Regions from separate parts of the Homo sapiens genome. Here regions 1, 2 and 4 are each linked to region 3. The links are contacts of gene promoters, found by promoter capture Hi-C in blood cells and fetal thymus (Javierre and others, 2016). All regions are on one chromosome and are shown on one strand. Each heading gives the region's core, a stretch centred on a gene start or on the middle of the fragment in contact. The rest is flanking DNA. Distances are from core to core; before and after follow the strand shown.

Region 1 (6,328 bases), core at 724-3,223, 150 kb before region 3:
TCCTTGGGTGGTGGATTTTGAAATGGTTATAAACAATTTGCAATTAGCTCTTTTGTCTAAATGAGAAAGGGCCGCTTACTCAGGCTTTTTATTGACTCGAGGCCCTTTATCCATGTGGCGAGTGCGTCAGATGTGAGCGAAGGAGCCCCTCTGGGATTCAGGGAAATTAAAAAGTCTGTTTTTTGGAGACCTCCCATCTTTAGAGCTTGGGCCCCCTGGCTTGGCTAGTTATCAGAGTCCTAAATTCTGTGGTGTGGTTGAGGAGAAGCCCTGCGCTTGGAGGTTCGAGTCCCAGCCCTGCCACCTCCCGCTGCATGACCCTATGCAAGTCCCTTCCCACCGCCGGCCCTCGGGATCTCCACCTACAGACGAGGGGTTGGGATGGCAGCCCCTGTTCTCCTGCGTCACTGCCCTGGCTCTTTCGAGGTTCAGATAAGAACATCTTAAAAAACCTGTGTATGTTCACTTTGTAAACTGAAAAGCTGGAAAAGACCAGGCATCCACATTATTGTTTATCCTTGCAAGGTGTAATAATCACAATGGCGGTAACTATAGCAACTGTTTATTATTATTTATGATGGGCCAGGCCCCAGGCCAAGAGCTTGATCACTTCCGTCTGTATAATCAGTGTATACCTAGGTGCTGGTACCATCTGCGTTTTATAGAAGGGTTAAGCAAATTGTCTACGATCACACAGCTTACAAGGTCTGAGTGACCTAAGGCAGCTTCTCGGCAGCCTTCCAGTCTGGTGGGCTGTTATTTTTCTGGTAGTTTCCTTTGATTCATCTAAGTCAGTGGTCTTCAACCCCGGCTGCCCAGGTGCCAGCCCTCATGGCCCACTGGAAAGCCTGGTTTCATGGGTCTAGGGTGGGGCCTAGCATCAGTGTTTGCTCAGGGCTCCCTGCTGATTCTGATGTGCAGTCTGCATGGAGCACCGCCATCCTGAGACCCAGCATCTGTGAGAGAGGGCAAAGTAGTTTGGACTAAACATCGGGGCTCCGTGGCCAGGTCTTCCCCCCCGGTTTCCTGACCTGCAGGAGAAGGGGGTTGGTCAGGTGGCCTCTAGGGGATTTCCTCCAGGGGCTGTGAGGTTCTGTAACTATAAGAAGCTCATGAGCAAACCTGTTATTGTTCTTTTTTCTCCTTCTGTTTTAGGCAGAATATGAAGTTACTCCAGATGAAAAACTGGGAGAGAAAGGGAAGGAAATTATGACCAAGTACCTCACCCCAAAGGTAAGGAGTCTTCCAAACCCCACAGCAGGTGGCACAGGAGGCCTTATGCAAAAATAGGAGCCCCTAAGTCTGTGCCAGGCCACATGGGGAGCTGTTAAGTGCTGGGCTGGTGGCTGTTGTTGACCTCCTGAGATCACAGTTCCCATCCTCCCCCAGAGAGTGCCCAAGCCTGGCAGGGCCAAGATGGGGATGGTCTAGGCCAGGACTGGAGTAGGGGCGGGATGCCTGCTTCTTGGGGCCCAGCCCCTTCAAGGGTCACCATGCTGCTGTGTGCCCACACCCAACCATTTGTGGTAGGGCAGATGGAGGCCTGGCCAAGTTCAGGAGAAGTGCCCAGAAGGAAGGGCTTAGCAGGGCAGTTCTGAGAGGTCAGCGTGGAGGGGAAGTGTTGGGGGTTGACTGGGAGGGAAAGGGGGTGCCCAACGACATCAAAGAATGAAGAGAATTCTGAAACATATTCTGGAGTATTCTGAAGGGTCAGGGGCCACCCCGACCCCACCTCGGGGCCACCCACTGGATAGTTGAAGCATCGGGGTACCATTGTCCTCAGGGTCCAGCAGCCTCGGTTCTCCAAGATCTGCTTCCTCTTGACTCACCTTCACAGAAGTGTGTTCTCAACCCATTTAGTGTTCTAGTGTCAGTGGTTCTGCCCACTTGGTCAAGCCACATTCCCTCCCTGGGCCTCTGTTTCCCTTTCTTAAAAGTGGCCTTCCTGTCAGACTCACCTCCCGGAGGTGTTGAGAGCCTGAGATGGGACCTGTGTGGGAATAGCTTTGCGTGTGTCCCATCCCCCGGGGCCAGTGGTGGCTTCACCCTGCTCAGGACCCTGTGGGCCAACCAGCTCCCCGGAAGAGTATACCTCCTGGTGCCCATCCCAGGCTGCCAGTGGACTGAGGTCACCACAGCCTGTGGAAGGTCTTGGCCATCAGTCCCCTCAACCTCCTGCACCTCTTGCACCAAATGTAGCCCTCGTTCTTCTCCAGCATCAGCAGTTGGTAGTGGCCATTGCCCTTGCAGGGTGAGACCAGCCTCACGCCCAGAAGTGTTGCCCTTTGTCACGCCCCACTCTGGACAGCCTGCTAGACGGCATTCCTAATGCGCACACAGTCGCCATCACCTTGTTGCCTCCCCTTGCTGTTTCTCTGCTGCATCCATCATAATCCATGCACTTCTCTTTCTGTGAACTGCAAACACCCCCAGCCCTTTTGCACTTTTCAGAAATGACAGAATTTATGTTTATAAAACACTTCTAGGCATAGAATAGGGCTAGTTTGCTCTGGACAAGGTGTGGCCCTGGGTAGGCACAGCTGCCCCCACCTTGGGGGCCTTGCTATGCTCCAGATATGGGCCTGTTGCTGTCTGTGAGGTTCTCAGGTGGACACAGACGAGGAGACGTTCTCAGCAGGGTCCCTGTTCACCCAGTCGCAGCCGATGTCATATTGGTGGGGCTCTGGCTAGATACATTTTTGATCTCCTGGCCACCACTCAAGATAGTGTGGACACTCTGGGCATAAACACATGCCCTGAGCTTAAAGGGGTGCATGCACCCTAGAGGGCATAATGATGACAGCTCCCTGGCTGGGCTCCTATGGTGTGCCACATGCCTCCGAGATGTCTCTGATGATTCGCGTATCCACGAGATTGCCCTATTTACAGACAGGCCACTGAGGCCACAGAGCTGAATAGCGTGAGAGGCCACTCTGCTGAAGGGGTCTTCAGCTACCCTCTGCAGAGGCATCTTCCCACGGTGGCTCAGCTTGGCCCAGTCCAGCGCTTCATCTGTGCCCCCATAGGGCTACCCAGTCACATGTGTCCCCCCCAAACAATGGCAACTAGAATGTATTGAGGACTCCTTGTGTCAGGCACCACTGTCTATAGTCCTTGCTGTCACTGTGGGATGCAGATTATATTTGTTCCATCTTACCGATAAGGAAGGAGAGGCTCAGGGGAGCTGTCACATCCCAAGTCACACAACTAGTGAGTGGCGGAGCTAGAATTTGAACCCAAGTCTGGGTGATTCTAGAGCCCTGAGTGTTTCCCCTGGGTGTAGTCTCCTCACCCGGCTTCACTGTCCTGCCACTGTCTGTGGCCTGGCTCTGATCTGCAGTGAGGGCGGAGTGCTCCCTTTGCCTGACCTTGCTGTCTGGATAGGCTCTTGTGGCTTAGCCAAGAACAGGGTACAGGCAGGCACTGGGGCAGCCACTGAGGGCTGCCACCGGGTTGCCCCGTGGCCAACCTTGTCCAGAAGCCCCTGCTGGCAGCCCCTGACCTGAGCTCTCCAGACCTCCCTAGCTCTGCTCAGCCTTGCCTCCATCTCCTGGAGGGATGGGGCCCAGACACCCCCATCAGCTCAGACGGTTTTACAAGTGCCTCAGAGCCTGCCAGCATTTTTTCCCTTAAGTTCTCCTCAATTTAAAAAATTTAAGCCACACCATATGTTACGGCCAGGGAGGCCTCCAGGGGAGGTGGTTGATCCATGCCTTGGGTCAGCTGTTTCCCTACAATAAACTTTGCACTGCTTTCCCAGTTCTTCCCATAACAGCTTGCTCTGGAGCCTCATTTACCTCTCACGTGCCCCAGTGCCCCAGATGCAGCGAAGCAAGGTGCTGGCTGAGGAGCTGAGCGAGTGACTGAGGCCCCAGCACTGGCTCAGAAGACTTTGACCAACTGCAAAGCCACTGTCCCCAAGCCCAGATTGTCCTTGCCTTGGGACCCCTCCTCAGTATGTAGCTTGTGTGTCTCAGCTCTGAGCAGTGCTTCCCAAAAGGTAGACCATAGGAGAGTGGCCAGTGGAGAAGCTCTGTGAAAAAGAACCCTCAGTGGTCAATTACACGTGGGCAGCACTGTAATACCATGTCTCCCCCGGTAGATTCACTCAGCATGTGAGCATATTCAAGGCTCTGAGAAGTCCTGCAAGAAAGAAACCTCTTTAACTGTTACCAAAGCATTTCTCAAAGTTATTGACCATAATTTTTTTTCAATTTTCCATTCTGCTGAGCACACTTTGGGCTACAGAACACATCCAAGAGCCTCACGCCCACACCTCCTTCTGCTCCAGCATCCTTTCCTGGGACCTCTCCTGTGGCTTCACACTGGACTGTGGCCACACCATTTCCTAGGCTCACCTGGATGTCCATACCTTGTGGCCTTTGTTCAGGCTGTGCCCCAGAAGGCCCTTTATGAAGGCGCTGTCCCCTACTCTGTCTTTCTCGCTTCTGTATCCCTGCATGTATTGAGGACACTTGTGTCAGGCACCACTGTCTGCAGTCATCTCCAACATCCCCAGCTGCACAGAGCCTCTTCTGCCTCTTGTCAGAGTCCGTTGGCCTCACCTGGGTGGTCTCTGAGCACACTGTTCCATTGTTGTGATTCTGTGCCCCATGATGGGGATTCTGAGGAGCCCACCTTCAGAGTAGGGCCAACACATAAGCAGATTAACCAAATGCCCCACGATGGGAGCAGTGGTGGAGCTGTGCTCAGGGAAGTGTGGGGTCAGGTGAGCTAGAGGACGCTTCCAGGAGGTGATGCTGCTGAATCAGATCTTAAAGGATGTGGAGGAGGAAGCTGGACACAAAAGAAGGGGAAGGAGGAGCGGCCTTCATGGGTGCAGTGCAGTGGGCATTTGGGGCTATCTGGAGATACTTGTAATTGGCAGAATTGTGGGGGAGGGAAGTGCTCCTAGCATCTGATGCGTAGAGGCCATGGATGCCGTTGAACATTCTAGAGTGCACATGGCAGCTTCCTACCCAGAGTTACCTGGGGGCAAAATGTCAATAGGGCTGAGGTTGAGAAACCTTGGCACAGAGGTAGGAAAGCGCACAGGATGGGCAGTGCTGTGGGGGTGGGAATGGGGAGGGGGCCCCTCTGAGCTGTAGGCCCTGGGAAGCCATGTTGAGGTGGCAGCAGTGTGGAGTTGCCAGTGCTTCGAGTGCCACTTGTATTTTAGGACGATCTCCCTGACCACATGGAGGAGGAATAAGGGGGATGAGGAAGGACTGGAGGCAAGAGGCCATCTGGGGAACAGCCCCAGGTCCCCAAGCTGGGCCAGCAGCCTTGGGGATGGGGAGGAACAAAGGGCCTTGCGAAACGGCAGAAGGAGGATGCCCTTGGGCTTTTGTCTTGAGTCTCTGGGTGTATGGGGGTGTCCCCAGGAAAGACAGAGCACAGGATGAGGGCCGTGGGAAGGTCCACCTGCTCTCGGCAGAGGCAGGGGAATTCATTTTGGATGGAGACAGTGGCATCTGCTCTCTGTGTCCCCGCCCCAGCATGACGCTGGACACATGGTTCTCGATCAATGTGAGTTGGTTGGAATGAAACACTGAGGGGAGCTCTGGAAGCTGCCCTCCATGGGCCCGTCAGCTCTCCTGTCTCATGTCTCTGGGGAGCCACGCTTGGCGAGCTCACATCCTGAGGTGTCTGCCATCTTAAAATTGCTGGAAGCCAGGATAGAAAGCCCCTGCCTAAGCAATGCCTATGCCTTGAGCTCCGTTCTCCCTCACCACGGAGGACGCCCTACAAACCCGTGCCTGAAGTTTTTATCTCAAGAGGCAAACCCCACTCCGTAGACCCTGCCTCGAATCCTGCATCAGTCGCCCATACAAGGCCAGCTTTGCTTTGGGGGTGTTACAGGGCAACAGCCAAGGGTGGGCTTGGAAGGGGTTGAAAGCTGTTGGAGAGCTCACAGAAGGGCAGCAGAGTGCTGAGAAGGACGTGAGCTTTAGAGTCAGGTAGACCTGGGTTCAAAGCCAGATGTCACCTCTTTGGGCTGCATGGGTTTGGGAAAGTTGCTTAACCTCTCAGTGCCTCAGTTTCCTCATCTGTCAAGGGTGTGGGCCATGATGAGGATCATAAATAAAAGCAGCAAGTACTGAGCATGGTAGCTGGGGCATCTTAAGTGCCCAGCAGCAGTGCTTGTCATCTGCCTTTCCCCACCTTCTCCGTGCCTTCAAAGTCAGGCTGTTGAATGAGGAAATCGTTCAGATGTCGAACTGCCAGCTGTGGAGTGCGAGAGGCCAAGGAAGGGTCGGGAGGGCCTCCAGCTGCAGAGGGCTGGACAGAGGCAGTGAGCCAGTCAGGATGATTTATACTAGCTGCC
Region 2 (6,418 bases), core at 1,411-3,910, 240 kb before region 3:
GGCACAGCCAGCAGGGCGAAGGCTGTGCGATGAGCATGAGCCGCAAGGGTCTCCATGGGCCGGGAGGAGCTCAGAGTGTCTGGAGTGGAGTGTGGGCCTGGGGCATAGTGGTTGTGGGGGAGTCACGGGAGGCATTTGGACTTGATTCTAAACCTGTTGGGAAGTCATTAGAGGATTTCAAATGAGAGAATTCCATGAGTTGCTTTGGGTTTGCATAACTCTGGCTGCTGGGTGGAGATAGTTTGAAAGGGGCAAGAACGGAGGTGGGAGGGGAGGAGGCTGGTCCAGGTGAGGATGCTGGCCTGGTCCAGTGGCAGCCCTGGGGCCATAGGGAGGGGGACAGGTATGGATTTCACTGCAGAGCCCAGACTTGGGGATGGATCCAGTGTGGCATGGAAGGTGGGGGAGGGAAAGTGAAGGACCCCAGCCGTCCCTTGGGTTTGGGGCTCAACTAGGGCTCCTTTGATCACTCATCTCCCACTGCATGGTGTCCCTACAGCCAGACTCAGGGTCCTTGCCTACCCTAAAGCGCCAGGGTGGTGCTGGCCCTGCGTCTTCAGGATCATCTGGGGAGGGCTGACTCACCTGCCTTTCTGGATCCAGAAGGCGGAGGGTGTGGTGTTACCTGGTGCTGGGGATGTTGGAAAACTCAGAACCTGGGCTTTATCTTGACTGTGTTTAATGACTCAGCACAAATCTAGAGACATGACCAAGAGGCAGCTTTGAGCAGCCCTGGCTGAAGGACCAGAGCAGTGGGATGATGTGGCCTGTGGAGGAAGGAAACCTCCACCTGGAACCTTGAGGGGAAAGCAGGGCAACAGCAGTATGCTAACTGTGTGAGCTGCTTTTTTTTTTTTTTTTTTTTTTTTTGACAGGGTCTTGCTCTGTTGCCCAGGCTGGAGTGCAGTGGCATGATCTCAGCTCACTGCAACCTCCGCCTCCTAGGGTTCAAGCAATTCTCCCTGCCTCAGCCTCCTGAGTAGCTGGGATTACAGGCGTGTGCCATCGCGCCTGGCTAATTTGCTGCTGTCTGTTGAGTGCTCACTGCACATGGGCTTCTGTGCATTTCCCCGTCATTCCTCACAACCCTAGGCGGCAACATTGACATTCTTCTTCCCATTTTGTGGATGCAGAAACTGAGGCTCAAAGAGCTTTTGGCCTAAGGTCATCCACCTAGCGAGCAGCTGAGCTCACCCACAGGCCCCTGAGTCCCGATTTAGGGAGTCTATAACCAGCACCCAACACTGTCGCCAGTGCACCACGCTGCCTGCTCACCAGCCATCCACCAAGGGCTGGCTCTGTGCCTGTCTCTGTCTAGGGGTAGGGCATGAGAACCGACCCCATGCAGTCCCCACCCAGAGATGCTTGCCCTGTGCACGCAGATGCGGACCAGCAGGGCATTTGCAGAAAGGCAGTTGTTCGCTTAATGAGAGGTGTTTGGGCAACTCCCTCCTTCTGTCCCTCCCTCCCTTGCTCTTTTCTTCCTCCTTTTCTTCCCTTCCTTCTTCCCTACCTGTTTTTCTTTCATCTCTCCCTTCCCTCTCTCCTCTCCCACCCCCTCCCTTCTCTTCTTTCCATCTCTCCCTGCAGTTTTTCTTTTGCTGACACCTGTTTCTGAAAAATCTTGGGTGTCTGGCTGTGGGGAGCTGCAGGAAAGCCCAGATGAGGTCTCCTGAGCTTCACCTTGTGGTTGGCAGCGAGGACTTGACCTAGAGCCTCTGACCTTCCACCTCCCTGGGCTCTGAGCTCCAGAGTCCCGTGGTCCTCCAAGGCTGTGGGAACCCGTGGTCCCCTCCCTTGCCTTTCCTCTCTTCGCTGACAGAACAAGGGGCCGGCAGAGGACATGTCAGGTGTGTCTCAGAGACCTGGGGGAAGATGGGCTCAACATGACCTGCTTCTGGGGTGACACCTCTGCTCACTCACTTATTCAAGCATTCACTCGTTCACAGACATGTCAGAGGTCTGCTGTGTGCCAGGCACATGTCCTAGGCACTGATGAGCAAAATGGACGTGGTCTCTGTCCTCTTGGGTGGAAGCCCCATAAAGGCATAAGTGAAAATTTGCTGACAAATTTTGATAGCTGCTTTTTCAAAGCCAGACACTGACTGAGGAGTGGTGGGAGAGAGCTGTGTGGGTATGACTTGGATTGATTGATTGGGGATGATCAGGGAAGGACAAGACCCTAAGACCTGAGGACTTGGCCGGGTGAAGTAGGGGCAGCAATAAAGTGCCACTCCCCGGGAGACACGTGTAAGTGCCCAGAGCAACGTCATTTGAGAGGTAAAAACCTGGAAGACCTAACCTACGTGTCTCTCAACAGGAGAGTGGATGGAGGAATTATTTTGACAAAACCTGTGGGTATGCAGGTTTAAAGAAATTTTGTTCCCATTCTGTAAGCTTGAAATGTTTCATTGCAAAAAAGTGATTCTGGAAATGTGTATCTAGCAGAGGAAATGACATATGCAAAGGCCCTGAGGCAGAAAATAACTCCCAGTGAGGAAGCAGGTGACGGCCTGACCACTGTACTTCCGGTATCTCTGCTCTCAGCCACCCCTGAGACCATGGAAAGGCTCCGTGTTGAGCCCTTGGAAGGCCTCCCTGGGAGTCCTGGGTGTCAGCTGGAGGACTGTGTGATGGTGAGGGAGTTGAACCACTGGGGCAGTGCCCGCCTGGGCTGGATTTGGGGGAGGGGGGAGCCTTTTGGATGAGTCAGTCCTCTCTGGTTGGAAACAGCAGAGTCTAGTTGAGGCTCTGCCAAGGACCCGTGGTGATTCTTGTCGCCTTTTGTGGAGAAATTTGCCCGCTAACAGGCCATCTGTGTGAGGTGAGTCACTGTTTCCCCCGTTTTGTTGATTGCAGACACCTCTGTGTGAGTCTGTTCAGCCTGAACTGCACACACCGATAAACTTCAGTGCCTGGATGAGCAAGCTTCCTGTGTGCTTCAGCTTGGGGCGCATGTGCGCTTCTTCTAGGATTTTCTGAAACTTGGTCAGGGGCTCCTGGATCATGATTGCAGATTGAGAGCCACTGAGCCATTCCAGGTCCTGTTTTCTGATGTGAAATGGAAGCCCAGAGTGGGGATGTGTCCAAACCCACACTGAGATCACACAGCGAGGGAAGGAAGCCGGGGTCCTGGCTGACACTTGCGGGGCAGAGCACCTTCTCTTGGCCCCGAATATGGATTTTGGTGTCCCTAGTCAAGATTTGTTCTGCTGACTTCTCCTGGGGAAAGAGGTGTCACGTCTGCCTGAGCCCCTGAGCCTGGTGGGTGGGGTGTGAGGATCTGGCCGGGGCCGCTGCACCTGCAGGTGTTTCCTGCAGACATTCTGCTGGGGAGCACTTCCCCTCTTCTCCCTCCAGGTGACTCACTGGGTGCAGTGTCCTCTAGCGTCTACTGGGTGCAGGGCACTGGGGAGACATGGGGGATGCTTCTTTGGGCTCGTCTGTACTAGGTATGGTTATAGGGTACTGGGGGTTGCCTAAAAAAATGCTGTGTGACCTTGATGGCTCACTTTTTCTCCCTGGGCCTCTGTGTCTCCAGCCGTCAGTGAGGAGCAGGCGTGGGTGATCAGCAAGGTTCCTCTCAGCTCTGATGTCATTCATTCTGAGTTAGGTGGAGAGTAGGGGATAATTGCAGCCCTTATTCACTGAACTTTCTTAACTATGCTAAATGCTTTACGTGCATCAGCTCATTGATGCCTATATCTATGTGGTTACAGAGGAGCCAGTTGAAGCACAGAGAGGTTGAGTAAATTTCCTGGAGTCACACAGCTAGTAAATTACATACCTGGGTTTAAACCCAGGCAGTCTGGCCCTGGAGCATGCAGTCTTAATCACTGCATGATTAAGGCTGAATCATGGTCCCCTAAAGATGTCGTATCCGAATCCCTGCAACTTGTGAATATGTTACCTACCTGATAAAAGGGCCTTTTCAGATGTGATTAAGTTAAGGCTGTTGAGATGGAGAGGTTATCCAGGGATATCAGGTGGGCCTGATTAGAGGGAGAGTGGACTGTGCCTGTGAAAAGGAGTTCAGAGTGATGCAGCTTGAGAAAGACCTGACCAGCGACTGCTGGTTTTGAAGGTGGAGGAAGGGCCATGAATTGAGCCAAGGAATAGAGGTGGCCTGTAGATTCTCCCCTGGAGTCTCCAGAAGGCACACTGCCCTGCCGACACCTGGATTTAGCCCGGTGAATCTGATTCCAGACTTCTGACTTCTAGAACTGTAGGATAATACATTTGTGTCTATAGCACTCCATTTGTGCCGTTAATAACTTGTTACTGAAGCAAGAGGAAACTCATGCAGCCATGCTCTACTCTGGTCTCCTGGTGGCGAGCCCTCCTTTCTGCATACACACTGGATTTTGAATTCTGAGGGGTAACAACCTCATCTTGCCAACAGAGCCCTCCTTGGCCATTTCACAATTCAAGAAGCATTTTCTAGGAAGCCTTTTAAAGCCCCACTGCCTTGCCCCAGCTTGCTCTGTTGTGTCACAGGAATGAGGTGGGGAGAGGACAGAGGGAAAGGGTCATGGGGAACCTGGGGCCCCAGCCTATACCCTGCCTCTATGAGGCTCCATCTGAGCACCCACCTCTCCAGGCATCGTCCTTGGTCCCCTGGGAGTGGGCACCCATGGCGGGTCTGCACTGTATGCCCAGTGCGCCTTTGTAGGCCGAACCTGCAGGGTCAGAGCTGGGTCTAAGGCTGCTCCCCAGGTCCTTGCAGGAACATAAGTGCCCGGGTTTATCTTTGGGCACTAGAGCTGTGCCCACAGCAGCTCCTGTTCAGATCTGGATCAGGGTCAGGCCCCCATCACTGATTGCGCACCCCAGGCACGCCTCACCCTGCCCCGGCCTCAGCTTCCTGATCTACAAAATGGGTGTCATGCTGCAGCCCTGCCGAAATTGTGTGCTCATGGTAGAAGTGACTGGGAAGAACTCTGCGTGTGGCAAGGGCTCTCGCTGCTGCTTCGGTACAGTCATCTGTAGGGTCATCTGTGACGTATGGGCCAGGCGTGTGCCCCCTCAGAATCCTCTCTGGGTCCCCTGACTCCTCCCCAGGAGCAGCCCACTCCATGGAGCTTCCCTTGGCCCCAAGTGCTTGAAGGGAAAGGTGAACACAGTCGGGATGACAAAGTTAGGAGGCGTGTGTTTTTCTTCCCGGTGACGTTGGGCCGGTCAGCCCGCGTCTTCGTAGCTTCAATGGCTTCTCCTGTGCCACGCGGTGGGGGAGCTTTCTTACGCCTCGTTCTGAGGATTAGAGACAATGGCTGCACAGGCACTGTGGCTGCCATGCTCAGGCCTGCCCTCGCTCCTGACCCCCAGGCCAGCTGCTTCCTGGTTCCAGGGGGCCAGGAGGAGGATCTTAGTGTTAGCCTGAGATCCTGGGCAGGTCCAGTTCTGAGGCAGGGGAGCCCTGTATGGATTTGGGGGAATGCTGGCAGGATGGCCTGCCGGCCCTTTTCTCCCCACTTCCCAGACGGAGCTGAAGGGAAAGGACTCTTCCCTGAGGGAGGCAGATCTTCCCAGGGCCTGTCTGGGAGCTCCCTCCAGTGAGGAGGCTGGTGCTGAGGCTGGGAGGGCTGGTGCCCAGGGCCCGGGCTCTTGAGCCTAGATGGAAACTGGGGCCACCTTCGGAGTTCTTGCCACATCCCTGCAGGGCTGGTGCGTGAGGGACCGTGTGGTCTCTAAGAAGAGAGGGTTCAGCCCAAGGGTCACCTCCTTCAGGAAGCCTTCCCTGATTCCACAGGCAGGGTTGATTGTGCCTCCCCTGTGCCCCCTCAGCCCCTCTTCCTCTAGTATTGTCACCTGGCATGGGTCAGTGCCGCCCACGAGCCTGTGAGCTCTTGTAGGGCAGGGGCCACGTGCCAAGCACCAAGTAGGTCCTCGATATGAGTCTGCACAGTGGATGGAAGAACTCTGGGGGAGGCAGAGCCGAGCTCAGTAAGGCCTTGGTGGGAGGGAAGCATGCTGGGAATGCAGGGTCCAATGGGAGTGTTGAGGGAGGTTGAATCAAGGACAAGGAAGGGTCCTTTCAACCCCCAGGTCCTGTGACCCTATGTGAGATCAAGAGTCAGGGCAGAGTAATGGCGACAGCTCACATTTACTGAGTGCTAACCACAATCTCACTTTGGCCCTAGCAGCCTTCTTAAGAGGGTGGTGTTTCCCCATTTTACGCTTGAACAATCTGAAGCTCAGAGAGGGTAAGCAGCTTGCCCAGGGTCACAGAGCTATGGACAGAGACCAGATGTGAACCCTCATCTCTGTGTTGGAATCCTCTCTACAGGTGCCTCTGTGCTGTGCTGGTTTTTGCTTCTGTGGCTTCAGACTTTGGGGGAACGTTCTTAGGACCCAGCTCTTGCCTGTCCCTTGAGCCAGCATCATCCTTGTGGACTGGGAGTTAAGAACTAGGCATTCT
Region 3 (6,514 bases), core at 1,778-4,277:
ACACTTTGAGAAACCTCAGGAAGAATAAGGAAATCCCACTCTGAACCTTGGAAGGAGGGGTTAGGAACTCAAAATCCTCCGCGGAAAGACAGTGTCTCCAGTGAGATTTTGCTGAAAGGTAGGAAAAGTGTAAAATAGAAGGTACTGGGGGAGGCAGGACCACAGCCAGGTCCAAATCAGGGGTCCTGCAGGAGCAGCTCTGGCTTTTGTGGAGCCTGAAGTTTATACAATTTGAGGATCCTCTTTAAGAAAAATAATTCAAAATTACAAAAAAAAAAAAAAAATTAAGTACAGGGTCCCAAAAATCACTTGGCTGTCTTCTCAGTACCTCGGCCCACAGGCCCAAATGACCCCTTTCTCACTAGGCTTCTTCTTTTCACACGGCTGGGTGGTGATGACCAGTCAGGCAAGAACTTATGTTATTTTCCATAATGGGGAAAGACCCTACACCTACAATTCCAAAGAAAATCAGGCTATTGGAGTGGAGGCATCCAGTACCAATCCATGATGTTTAGTGGCTGATCTTCCTTCCTTCCTTCCTTTTTTCTTCCTTCCTCCCTTCCTTCCTTCTTTCCTTTTCTTTGGATCTCACTCTGTCACCCAGGGTGAAGTGCAGTGGCACGATCTAAGCTCACTGTAGCCTCAACCTCCCAGGCTCAAGCCATCCTCTCACTTCAGCCGTCTAAGGAGCTGGGACTACAGGCACGCATCACCATGCCTGGCTAATTTTTTAATTTTTTTGTAGAGACGGGGTTTTGCCATGTTTCCCAGGCTTATCTGGAACTCCTGGGCTCAAGCAATCCTCCTGCCTCAGCCTCCCAAAGTGCTGGGATCACAGGTGTGAGCCACTGAGCCCGGCCTGAGACCGACCTTTCTGTCAGTGATGTAACCACATTTTATGAGGTTTAAAATTTGTTGCCCTGAAATAATTTGTTCCCTAAAACTGCCTTCAGCCTTTTTGGGGTGCAACCTGGCTACACGCAAAATCACCCCAAATCCATGTATCTCCCAGGATACAATGGTTCTATCTGTCAGTCTTCAACCCAAAAGCAATCTAAAGTAATAAGTAACGCGTACAGGGCTATTCATAGCAGCTCTATTTATAACAGGCAAAAGGGAGAAAAGCTACTAATTATTACACTTTTATTATGTGCCACACATTGTACTAGGGGCTTCATATGGTTTTGAGTATTTAATCCCATAACCCTATGAAACCCACTTTGCAGGTGGAGAAAGGTGCTGGAACATCAGCTCTCCTGAGTCAAAATGAAGCCTTCATTTTTAGCTTTGTTGATTTTCATGATGTAAATATCCCATCATAACTACTTTCAAGCTACCTATGGTTTACAACCAGTTTCCAAACTTTTTGAATATTTGGCAACTGGCTCTTGCAAGCCAGTTTGAGCCAGCTCCAGCACATCACTGAAACGGAGGCACAGAGAGATCAAGTAATTTGCCCAGTGTTGCTGAATGACAGAGTCAAGGTTAGAACCAAGAGTTTAATTCGAGTCCAGGCTCTGAGCAGCGCTCCACAGGCCTGTGCCAACCATAGAGACTGGTTAACATTAACACCCACAAGGGAATTCTTTGACTCACATGCAACACAAAAAGGTTTACATGACCACTAACGCTAACGGAGCACTTAGTACTTGCCGGGCAACAATGTAAGATCATTACAACAACCCTATGAAATCCTACATATTAAATACAATAATTTGCAAAACCTGATGGATGGAAGACAGGTTCCAATTAAGTACTTTAAAAGGCGAGTAGCTACTGTTATTCCCACTGTGCAGAACCTCATTCTGCAGAAAGGTCCCACGGCTGGTGAATATGGCGAAGGTGAGATTCGGATCCAGCCAGTCTGGTCCCAGTCTCTAAACCACAATGTCCCTCATAAAATACCAGGAGCAGAAAGGAAATGCACCAACGCGTTGGGACTCTGAGCGCCAAGCAGAAGTGAATCTTGGCGTGGGAAGCCCGGCAAAGCCCCCGAACTTCAGAGTCAGGGGAACCTGGGTTTGAAAGCCTCCCCATCACCTGCGGAGTGTGACTGGGGCAAGTTACCTAACAGCGCCTGGCTTCCGCTCCCTCCTCACTCACCGGGTTGTCCTAGGGGTGAAGGGAGAGTTCACCCAACGCGGTGGACAAAGCCCTTGGCGCACCCAAAGGCCTGCACAGGTCGTAGCTATTGTGATGAGCAAAAGGGTGGAAGGACCGGAATCAAGGGCACGGCTCCACCTTCACCGTGGGGTCTTTGGCCTATCAAGTTGCCCGAGATCGTGGCTCAGGCTGGCCCAAAGTGACGGCCAAGGCGAATCCTTCGTAACGTCAGAACTTCGCTGGCTCGGACCGCAGAAGTGCCCTTCTCCATCCTGGGGTTCCGCCACCCTCGCGATCCCACCTTTTGGCTCCTCGCGGCAGAAGCGAAGGCCCCCGACGCCCCAGGCCCAGGGGCCCAGTCGGATGCCCGGGTCCAGCCGTGCTCCCCCGGGCGCTCGGCATCCTTCCACCCACGCCCGCAGCGGAGGCGGAGAGCGTCACGGAGGGAGAAGCCCGCGCGCCGTTCCGCTTTCGGAATCTGGAGCCCCATGTCACCTCCAAAGTTTGGAGATTTGGGGCGCTCCTTTTTCTCCCAGACCATCACTAAAAAGAAAACTGCGGCTGTTCCTCTTTCAGCCAAACTTCCTCCCCGGGGCTCCCGGAGGAGCTCTGCGCTCCCGTCGCGGCTGGGACCGCGAAGGTGCGGTACCCAGCGGGGAGAGGTGGTGCGGTCGGCCGGGGCTCCAGTCTGGGAGGTACCACCGAGCCGCGCCCGAGCACAAGAGGGAGGGCAGGAGGCCGGGCGGGCGAAACGGCGCCCCGACCCCGAGCCCGCGGGCCCCCGAAGCCGCTTACCTGACGGCGGCCGCTTCCTGCTCAGCCGGCTCACGGCGCGGTTGAACATCGCCGCGGGCGCCCGAGGAGGAAGAAGGAGCAGCCCGGCGGCGCGGCGGCTGAGCCGGAGGAAGGCGAGGAGGAGGAGGAGGGCGAGGAGGAGGAGGAGGAGGGCAAGGAGGAGGAGCGGGCTCAGCACCGCCCCGGAGCTCTAGGTCCCCGCCCGCCGCCCTCCTCCTAGCCAGGCGCCGCGTGGCGCGCTCAGTGCGCCCTGCCCGCCCCCGCTGGTGAGGACTCGCGGTTCCGCTCCGGGGTGCCCGGGCGGGGCAGGGCAGGGCAGCCCCGGGTGACCCCCGATCGCCCAGAGTGTGCCCCGCGCCTGGGATAAGGTGCACTGGCCCAGAGGGAGCCCGCGCCGCCGGGAACTTAGTAGCCCCGCGGAGGCGGTTAGCGCGTCCCGGGGTCCCTGGCCCTCGCCTGAGATGCCGCCCCGGCCCGCCCCGCCCAGCTTCAAGCTCCCGGGCCCATCGCGGTCTCCCGCCTTCTCCCTGTAGCCCCGGAGAAACTGGCACGGCGCCGCGGGCGCACCGCGCTTCGGGGCTCTCAGCGAGCCTTCGCAGGTGGCGGGCGGGGTCCCCTCCCGGGTCACAGGCTGGGAAGCCTAGGCCTCGCGGTTCTGCAGAGTCCGGGCGCGGCCCAGCCTGTGGCCTTTGCCTCCTCGTCACCAGGATCCCCGCCTGCTGGGGCCTGGCTGCTCCTCGACTTCGTGGGCGCTGCGCCTTCCCGCCCCGCGAATGCGGGTGGGGCGTCCCCAGGGCCCGTGCGCTGAGCTAGCCGAGCCGCCGCGGGTGGGCGCCCTCTCCCCGGCCGTGCCGCGCGGGCGCCAGGACTCGGGGAGATCTGAGAGGATTCTGCAGGAACCCCCCGGTTCCTGCGCCGGGCGGTGCTCTGTCCCGCACACCGCGCTCTCGGGACACTTCTCTAACTTTGGGGACACGTGGGCACTGCCTCTGGCAGGGCCTTCAGGCTCCACGACCGGGACCACTCAAGCCCCCACGGCGTCACCTGCTGGGCGCTGCGCGCTCTACGGTCTCCTATTATTTCATTTCTTCTATGGAGCAGCCCCAGAGGGGATGTCATTAGCCCCCATTTTCTTGAACATTTGGTTTGCAAGAAATTGTCTTTCTGGCGAGTTTTATTTTTCTCCTTGTGTATCTGGCTTTGTCTCTAAATTGGTCTTTATTTTTAGCTGTACTAATTGCTATTTTTCCAAACCGTTCCCCAGTCGCCCTCCCCCCATCCCCCCGTCCTTTTGCAGTTTTTTTCACTACTTGGCACTTTCTTTTGTATCTTCTATTCTGAGCTTCCAGTTCTGCTCACTTTCCCTCTCCCTCTACCCACCCCACAGCCCCAGTTGCACCCCAAGTGTGGCCGGTGGTTGCTTGTTGTTTCCCTCCCCGCTATTCCCCCTCCAAAAGTCGTTTTCCTCCGAGCATTTCCAAGCACTCTCCCCCTTCTGCTGCCAAAAGAGGATTTCCAGGCTCCTGAAGCGAACGCGGTGACCAAGAACAGGGTTAGACCCAGCGCGGGGAGTTCTGCTTTTAAAACTGCTGTTGTTGGCCTACTCCGGGCCCAGACAAACTTCCATCTCATTGTAATGGGATCAAGCTGTGATACTTAACTATAGGCAAGAGTTTCACCTTTCGTAAGAGCGGGATTTTAAATGCTGGCAGAGTCCTGGATCCAAGTGAGGTCACTGCGTTCTTAAAACAATAAGGGAATTGGTGCAACGCACTCACCCAGAAAACTTCCCCGAGACCAAATTACAAGTAATCCTAAGACAGGAAATAAGCACACTGGCACACAGGGGTAAAAGTTAGGCACAGCAGCTCAGTGTTTTGCTAGTTGCCAAGTCCACCCTAGCGTGTCCTGAAAAACACTGGTGTGGCTTAAGACATGCTATGAATCCCTCCTGAGCTAAGAACCCCAGGCATCTCTTAAATAAAGGGAAAATATAACAGCCTTAAATCACTTTTACTGTCCTGTTAGCACATCAGAGAGTAAGTACAAAAATTAAGATGCATAGTTAGGGCCAGGCGCTGTGGCTCACGTCTGTAATCCCAGCACTTTGGGAGGCAGAGGCAGGCGGATTACCTGAGGTCAGGAGTTCAAGACCAGCCTGGCTAACATGGTGAAGCCCCATCTGTACTAAAAATACAAAAATTAGCCAGGCCTGGTGGCAGGTGCCTGTAATCCCAGCTACTCAGGAGGCTGACACAGAAGAATCACTTGAGCCTGGGAGGAGGAGGTTGCAGTGAGCCAAGATCTGAAGGAGGAGGTTGCAGTGAGCTGAGATCTCACCACTGCACTCCAGCCTGGGCCACAGAGCAAGACTCTGTCTCCAAAAAAAGGAAAAAAAGGCCGGGTGCGGTGGTTCACACCTGTAATCCCAGCACTTTGGGAGGCCAAGGCGGGCGGATCACCTGAGGTCGGGAGTTCGAGACCAGCCTGACGAACATGGTGAAACCTCATCTCTACTAAAAATACAAAATTAGCCAGGCGCGGTGGCAGGCATCTGTAATCCCAGCTACTCAGGAGGCTGAGGCAGGAGAATCGCTTGAACCCGGGAGGCAGAGTTTGCAGTGAACTGAGATCGAGCCATTGCACTCCAGCCTGGGTGACTGAGCAAGACTCCATCTCAAAAAAAAAAAAAAAAAAAATGCATGGTTAACGTTTAAGTGCACAGTTTAAAATTTTTGCCTGGGACATTGAAATTGCTATAAATACCTGTTTTAAGTGTCTGAAGGTTCAAAAGCCAGTTTTCAAAGTGTATTGTGCAAAAGACCACGTATAAAAGTATAAAGCCTCCTAACTCCTAAAACTCGCCAAATGCACACACACATACACACACACACTCACACACACACACACACACACACACACGATTAAGTTCCAACCGTGGTTTGCATTGGATTGAAGGTGCTCACCATCCCAATGGCATTTTTCCTGTAATTCCAGCATGCACTTTCTGAAGCTTTTTTTTTTTTTTTTTTTTTTTTTTGAGACAGAGGTTTCACTATGTTGTCCAGGCTGATTTCTGACTTCTGGGCTCTCAAGTGATCCTCCCTCCTTAGCCTCCTAAGTCAAGCCTTCACAAACAAACTGCGGTAGCCAGTGTGGGGAAGAAGAGGATGAGCGGTTTAGCCCCTTTCTTCCCCTGCTGGTCTCACTTTTGGTTCAAGGATGTTTACATCAGGCAAGAAGCAAGAGCCCCGGATGTCTTCTGGTAACACAAGATTTCAGAGGGATTACTGGCTTTGGAGTTCAATATTTTCATTCTACCCAGAAACTAAAATATTGGTAAGCTGTGAATACATTTTAGAGCCTCTCATCACCAGAATTTATGTAACAAGACTATTCTAGGCCAGTTGAGGCAGACAAGGTATAGTAAAATGAATAAGTGGCCAACTTAAAGTCAAGAGACCTGGGTACTAATCTGACCAAACAGCAACCAGCTGTGTGGACACACCAGATGTGTCCTCAAACACATCGTAGCCTCAAGGGACAGGGCAAGGAGAGGTCCACCTACACTCCGAGCAAGTGGTATTCAATAGCAATAAACAAAAAAGCATCTGGC
Region 4 (6,030 bases), core at 1,042-3,541, 180 kb before region 3:
GTAATCTCAGCTACTCAGGAGGCTGAGGCAGGAGAATTGCTTGAATCTGGGAGGCAGAGGTTGCAATGAGCTGAGATTGAGCCACTGCACTCCAACAGCTTGGGTGACAGAGCAAGACTCTATCACAACAACAACAACAACAACAACAAAACTCCTTTGGGATCTATAATAATTTGTAGAGGTATCAAGGTGTCCTGAGTCCATAAAGTTTCAGAGTCACTGCAGTAGAGGGAAGAAAAGGACAACAGAAACAGTGAAACTTAAATAGCATTTCCTGAGCCCTGAGAAACAACCGATGCTATATAGTTATTTTTTCACTCTAAGATAACTCAAGATAGAAACTTTTAAATCTAGAGAGCTGATAAAGTAAGATAATAATACATTCTGCAGGCCTAAGAACCCTGATCTGGAGGATCAAGACTGGGTCATGCATACATTGCATTAGACAGCGACACCTAATGAACAACAATGGTATTACAACCCAGCTCTATGAAACCAGGGACTAGCAAGAGTAAATGCTGTATTCAGACTAAAGGACATAGATAAGAGCACATTCTGTCAGGCAGAGTATTTCATTATTTGATATTCTTAGACAAAACAAATTCTCAGGGTGTGGAGGGCAATTTACAAAATATATAATGACAGTTCATTTGCTTAGACCTTCTTCCTTAGTTAAGTTGAATGTTAGTGGTCCATCAGGGAATCTGGAGCATAGAGTAGAATCACAATCACCTTGGACTTATAAGAAATAATTCAAAGACTTTATAGAATCAGTCTCTAGTCCCAGAATTTTATGTTTTTACCATGTTCGTGGCTCATGCTTTCTTGATTTCTGGCATCCTGTCTGATTTCTGAGTTTGGGCTAGCTAGAGTCTTGTTTGTCTATCTTCTTGATGCCCAATAAGATCAGCCCCTTTACTGTGCCTGGATTTCTATATCCAGCATTACCTAAATCCAACTTTACACAGGCTTTGGGCTCTTCCAGTTCCTCTTCTGCCCTTTAACCCCATGTGTGCCCCAGAACCATCCACAAGGAGATGCCAAGAATAGAGAAGATGAACAACAACAACAACAAAACAGAACTGCAGCCCTTCTGTATGCTTCAGTCTCTAGCAGGCTCAGCCCAAGCCACTACCGATCCCTTTTCTCACAAGTTTTCAATGCAATCTACAGGAGGCTTTGTATTCTCATATAGGAACCCTTCTCAAAACTGATAAAACGATAAAGGCTTTGCTTTACTAAAATTTGCTGTGCCAGCCCTCTCTTTAGCAACTGACCAGTGCTGAGCTATCTCATGCTACCTCTATGGCATTGTCAAAGAAGGCAGGGAATGTCTTTGCCCACCAAAGAACAGCATGTGTGTGAGGCCCATGCTAGGGAAGAAAAAATTCTTAACAAAGTGAGGTGTGAAGGTGGCTGGGGGCCAACTGGACCCTGGAGCCCAAGCGAAGTGAAGTGATGCCAGATGCCTTGCCCTATCAAAGTAATGAAAGTGATCTGGAAATGGTGTTTTTTCTCATTTTAATGACAGAGCAGGGCTGGGTAAGGAATAACTGTAAGTGCAGATGAAGCTTGTTTATGCTCCAAAGATAAAGTCACAAATGGGGGGTAGGGTGGGCTGTGGCCTTCCCTTGCTCTAGGCAAATTCCCTCAGCACTAGAGAAGGTGCCTTCCAAAGGGCCTGTGTTGTGTCTGCAGTTCTGTTCCCAGGGAAGTGGAAGCTGAGGCACCTGTGGTAAAGCCCCTCATGGGAGCGGGGGTCAGGGAGATGTTTGGAAAGGCTGTGGCTGATAATGAGACGCGGGTAACCCTGGTGGATATCGTTCCATCCTGGTGCGTGCCTTCCTGGTTGCCTCCTGCTGCCTGCTCCTGGGGAGTGGAGTGGGGGAAGCATTAGTCTGGATTGTTGTTGGCTTGGTTGCCTTCCAGAGGCCTGCATCCAGGTGCCAGGGAAATTCTGACTGAAGTCCATTCAACAATAGCAATAGCGGCTCACACTCAGGCCTGCTGGCCCCACCATTGACAGCTTTGCATGAGCTTCTTTCCATGCAAGAGGGCTGTCCCCAGGTTCACTCCCCACTTCTTGTTCTGCTGCCTGCATTCTTGGCCACGTAGTTAAGTCTCCCTCCCTTTGTGCCCCCTTTATGTCTCTGGTCTTCTCCAACATTAGCCATGCCATTGGCAGGGTGGGGGTGGGTGGTGGGGCACGCTTCCTGACTCGGATGCCTTGACCCCACAGGGACTGAGTTTTGGACAAGGTGCAGCGGCAGCCTCCCAAGCCAGGGGTGGGCAGCGTCTGCTGAGCAGATCCTGGTCCTCTCGGGGTGGCTGCATCAATCACACCCAAAGGGGAGAGGCCTCAGTATGGAAAGTATGTGAGCCTTGGATGGAATCACGGATGGCCCGAAATGGCTTGGCCCCTTGTTTCTAAGGCCCCGGCTGGTTTCCCCATTGTGCAGTGGGGAGGGAGAAAGGGGCCAGCTTGCCTGAGTTCCTGGAGCACGAGTGAGAGTCCCTGAGCCACAGGTAGGTGAGGGCAAGGGTGGCAGTGTTTTGGGGTGTCCACGCAGCATGCATGGCTGGTCCTAGCTCGGATGTTGTCTGACAGTCACCCATGAGGAACAGGAGTCCCTCCCATTACTCAGCCAAGGGCACAGAGTGATTATGCCCGGGGTGTAGCAAATGCTCTGCAAATAGTAGCTGCTCTGACCATGTGATTTGACTGGCATTGCCCAGATGCTGAGTGGTGGTGCCAGGATTGGACCTGTATCCATCTCATGCCTCCACCCAGGCCCTCCACCCGGCAGCCTGGCCGCCTTCTCCTGGTCCTGGTCCCCTTGCCCCCAGGAATTGAGGCGTGCATGGTGCATTTCCATCTCCCAAATCATGGTCCTGTCTGTGCCCTCATCTGCTCCTCTTCCACAGGCCTCTCAGGGAGGCAGGCAGGGCAGAGTCAGCAGCCCCATTTTAGAGACCAGGAAACTAAGGCCCAGGGATTCCTCAGAGGTCACCAAGCTTGTAAATGGCAGCACTGAGCCTCAAGCCTTGCTCTTTGGATCATCCACTTTGTATTAGTCTGCTCAGGCTGCTATGACAAAATACCACAGAGTGGGCGGCTTAGACAACAGGTATTTCTTTCCTCACAGTTCTGGGGGCCACAGTTCAAGATCCAGGTGCCTCAGGGCTGGCTTCTGCCCTTGCTGGTTTGTAGATCCACTGTCTTCCTGTTATGTCCTTGCCCGGCCTTTCCTCTGAGCTCTCTGGTGTCTCTTCCTCTCCTCCTAAGGACACCAGCCCTATCAGTTAGGGCCCCACCCTGAAGAATTCATTTAACCTTAATTACCTCCCCAAAGCCCCACCCCCAAATATAGTCACATTGGGGGTTAGGGCTTCAACATATGAATTTGGGGACAACACAGTTCAGTTCATAACACACCCTGAGCCCCCTCCACTGTTTGGAGTCCCCTAGGTCACACCAGGGGGGTTGCTGGTGCTGTGCATCAGAGGAGCCATTTGGAGAGACTGTGCCAGAGGCCAGGGGTGGGGCTGGGGCAATCCAGGAAGGCTTCCTGGAGGAGATGTGTGTACACACGAGAGGGCTTGGGGGCAGTACATGCCCTTACGGGGGCCTATTTCAGGGAACCCCACATGTAATCCACACCAGTAACTCAGATGAGCTGTAGCTGTTTTCCAGGAGCCACTTTCTCTCCATGGTTATGGCAAGAGGGGAGCCTCCGGGTCCTGCGTGGCCCAGCAAGGCAGCTGTGGGTTGATGCAGCAAAGCAGGTTGTGTTTCCAGGTCATTCGTGTGGAAGGGAATGGGATCCCAGGTGGGCAGGGCCAGGCAACAAAGGCCAGAAATCGAGCTGAGCACCCACGAAGCCTTCCTCAGAGCAAAGACCTGCAGAGGGGACCACTGCATGTGGCAGCTGCCCCAGATGCTGTGGCCCTGGCTGCTGTGGGAGGGTAATTTTTGTTAAGATGAACTAAGTTGGGACTGCATCTCACACAGTGGCCTTTGTATAAATTCGCTTGCCTTCCTCATCCGGTATCTGTCCCCTCTTTGGTTCACACCCTGGATGCAGGTGTTCGGGGGAATGTGCATTGCCACACTTAGAACATTCAAGTTTCTGCCATCCCTGTGTTTCTGGAGTGACAGTGATGTTCCCGGGGGGGAGGTGTGGGTTCATGCAGCAAGTCCCATGCAGAGTCCGGGGCAAATTCAGGTCCTGAGTGAGGTCGTAGTGGGTACCTGGCTAGCAGGCTGAAGGGAGGTTGAGGAGATTGAGGAGGCTGAGGGGGCTTGAGGAGGCTGGGGAGGCTGAGGAGGCGGAGGGAGGCTGAGGAGGCTGAGGAGGTGGAGGGAAGCTGAGGGAGGTAGAGGGAGGTGGAGGGAGACTGAGGGAGGTGGAGGGAGGTTGAGGAGATAGGGGGAGGCTGAGGAGGCCGAGGGAATCTGAGGGAGGCAGGGAGGGAGGCTGAAGAGTCTGAGGGGGTGAAGGAAGTTGAGGGAGGCTGAGGCTGAAGGAGGCTGAAGGACTCTGCTCTTTGGGTAGAACTTCCTGTTTCTCATGTTTCCTCTCTGTAGACCACAGTGCCCAGCCCTGCCCCAAAGCAGAGCCAGAGCTTGTGTCCATTTCTTGGGTGTGTAGTGTGCCTTTGGCTTCTCTTTAGTTGTGCCTTGGAATGGCACACGGGGCTGGGTGGGATTCTGGAGGCGCTTAGTGGGTGGCTTCTCAGAGCTCAGGCCACAGCCCTTGTGAGTGGGAAGAGTCTGTGTGAGTGGGAGGAGCCTGTGTGAGTGGGAGGAGTCTGTGTGAGTGGGAGGAGCCTGTGCGAGAGGGAGGAGCCTTGTGAGTGGGAGGAGCCTGTGTGAGTGGGAAGAGCCTGTGTGAGTGGAAGGAGCCTGTGTGAGTGGGAAAAGTCTGTATGAGTGGGAGGAGCCTGTGTGAGAGGCAGGAGCCTGTGTGAGTGGGAAGAGACTTGTGAGTGGGAGGAGACTGTGTGAGTGGGAGGAGCCCCTCTCGCAGCTCCATGGTCAAGTGTTTGAGGCTAAGTTAGGAGAAGATGGTCTGTCCGTCCTCTTCCTCCCTCCTCCCTCCTCCTCTTCCACACCCGGCCCGGGGCCCTTTGCTCTGGGTCATGCTCTGTTCCCAGGCCCTGTGGGGATGCTGGGAACCCTGGGAACACAGCTCCCTTCCTGCCCGAGGCCCTGAGCGTTCTGAGCCTGTGGCCGCTGCTTCTCTGGTGGGAAACGGTGGTTTCCTCTTGAGGGAAGTGTTAGTCGCTGCCTTTCCCTCCCTCTGATTCCCAAGGATGAGTCTCTTTGGGACAGCAGGTGCCTCTGGGAAGGTCTCCTGGCTAGGTGGGCTCTGGCTCCCTGGGAGTACTGTGGGCTTTGGAGCCAAAAAGACCTGGACGCAGATCCCAGCTCCTCCGCTGATGCACTGTGACCTTGGGCAATGCACAGACCTTAAACTGGCTGTGCCCTGGTTTTCTGTCCAGCAGGACCGGGCAGTGCTGTCCACTCTACAGTGGAATGAAGGCAGAGAATGGCGCATCAGAGGTGCGGCTCATGGCAGGTGCTAAACACTTGGGAGTGTCTGGGCGCCTGGTGCGGGAACATGAGCAGAAGCCCCACCCCACTTGGATGTCTGGTGGTCTTCGCTGCTTTCTGACTGCCTAGATGGGGAGGCCTCGAGGCCATCATGATTCAACCATTCTCTTACTCAGCAAGCCCTGACCACCATTCATTCATTCATCCATTCACTTCCGAGAACCTGCCGCGTAGTAGGCCTTGTTCTCTGCACTGGGGCACACAACCATGGATAAGACAGACCAGGACTTGTGCTCCAATTCTATGTTGAAGGTGAGGGAAGAAGTTAATTAAGCAATCAGCCAAGCGGATTTCAAAGGACAGCTGTGCTGCACGCCACTGAGGAGACGTGAGAGGAATCCTGGCTAGGGGCCTATGCTGGGTGCCCGGCAGTGGGGGAGGCGCAGAGGGGGTTCAGAATTGAAAGGCTGGGT

Evidence for each region. Contacts are between HindIII fragments. The CHiCAGO score rates a contact against its expected background, and 5 or more counts as called.
Region 1: a fragment that was not itself captured here is called in contact with the fragment with the promoter of RGS10 in region 3 in 1 of 17 cell types (non-activated CD4 T cells); the score reaches 7.1 in non-activated CD4 T cells.
Region 2: a fragment that was not itself captured here is called in contact with the fragment with the promoter of RGS10 in region 3 in 4 of 17 cell types (non-activated CD4 T cells, naive CD4 T cells, total CD8 T cells and 1 more); the score reaches 9.6 in non-activated CD4 T cells.
Region 4: a fragment that was not itself captured here is called in contact with the fragment with the promoter of RGS10 in region 3 in 1 of 17 cell types (activated CD4 T cells); the score reaches 5.4 in activated CD4 T cells.

Annotation. Positions count from the first base shown.
Region 1 is chr10:119,395,540-119,401,867 of GRCh38, forward strand. GRK5 (G protein-coupled receptor kinase 5) reads left to right here. Exons shown (of 16, transcript NM_005308.3): 4 at 1,156-1,233. Among named protein-coding and RNA genes, the nearest start is that of MIR4681, 21 kb to the left of the region's middle. RefSeq lists an enhancer at 5,857-6,328 and a silencer at 6,282-6,328. The HindIII fragment of the contact is 9,117 bases long and covers 1-6,328 here.
Region 2 is chr10:119,303,440-119,309,857 of GRCh38, forward strand. The region is part of intron 1 of GRK5 (G protein-coupled receptor kinase 5); the gene reads left to right. Among named protein-coding and RNA genes, the nearest start is that of GRK5-AS1, 33 kb to the right of the region's middle. RefSeq lists enhancers at 2,628-2,707, 3,118-3,217. The HindIII fragment of the contact is 531 bases long and covers 2,396-2,926 here.
Region 3 is chr10:119,539,692-119,546,205 of GRCh38, forward strand. It overlaps RGS10 (regulator of G protein signaling 10), which reads right to left and starts at 3,028. Exons shown (of 5, transcript NM_001005339.2): 1 at 2,899-3,028. The coding sequence starts at 2,947. RefSeq lists silencers at 2,481-2,650, 2,701-3,440, 3,451-3,520, 3,571-3,730 and enhancers at 3,941-4,020, 4,283-4,791. The HindIII fragment of the contact is 10,649 bases long and covers 1-5,909 here.
Region 4 is chr10:119,355,657-119,361,686 of GRCh38, forward strand. All of the region lies in intron 2 of GRK5 (G protein-coupled receptor kinase 5), which reads left to right. Among named protein-coding and RNA genes, the nearest start is that of MIR4681, 19 kb to the right of the region's middle. The HindIII fragment of the contact is 1,444 bases long and covers 1,570-3,013 here.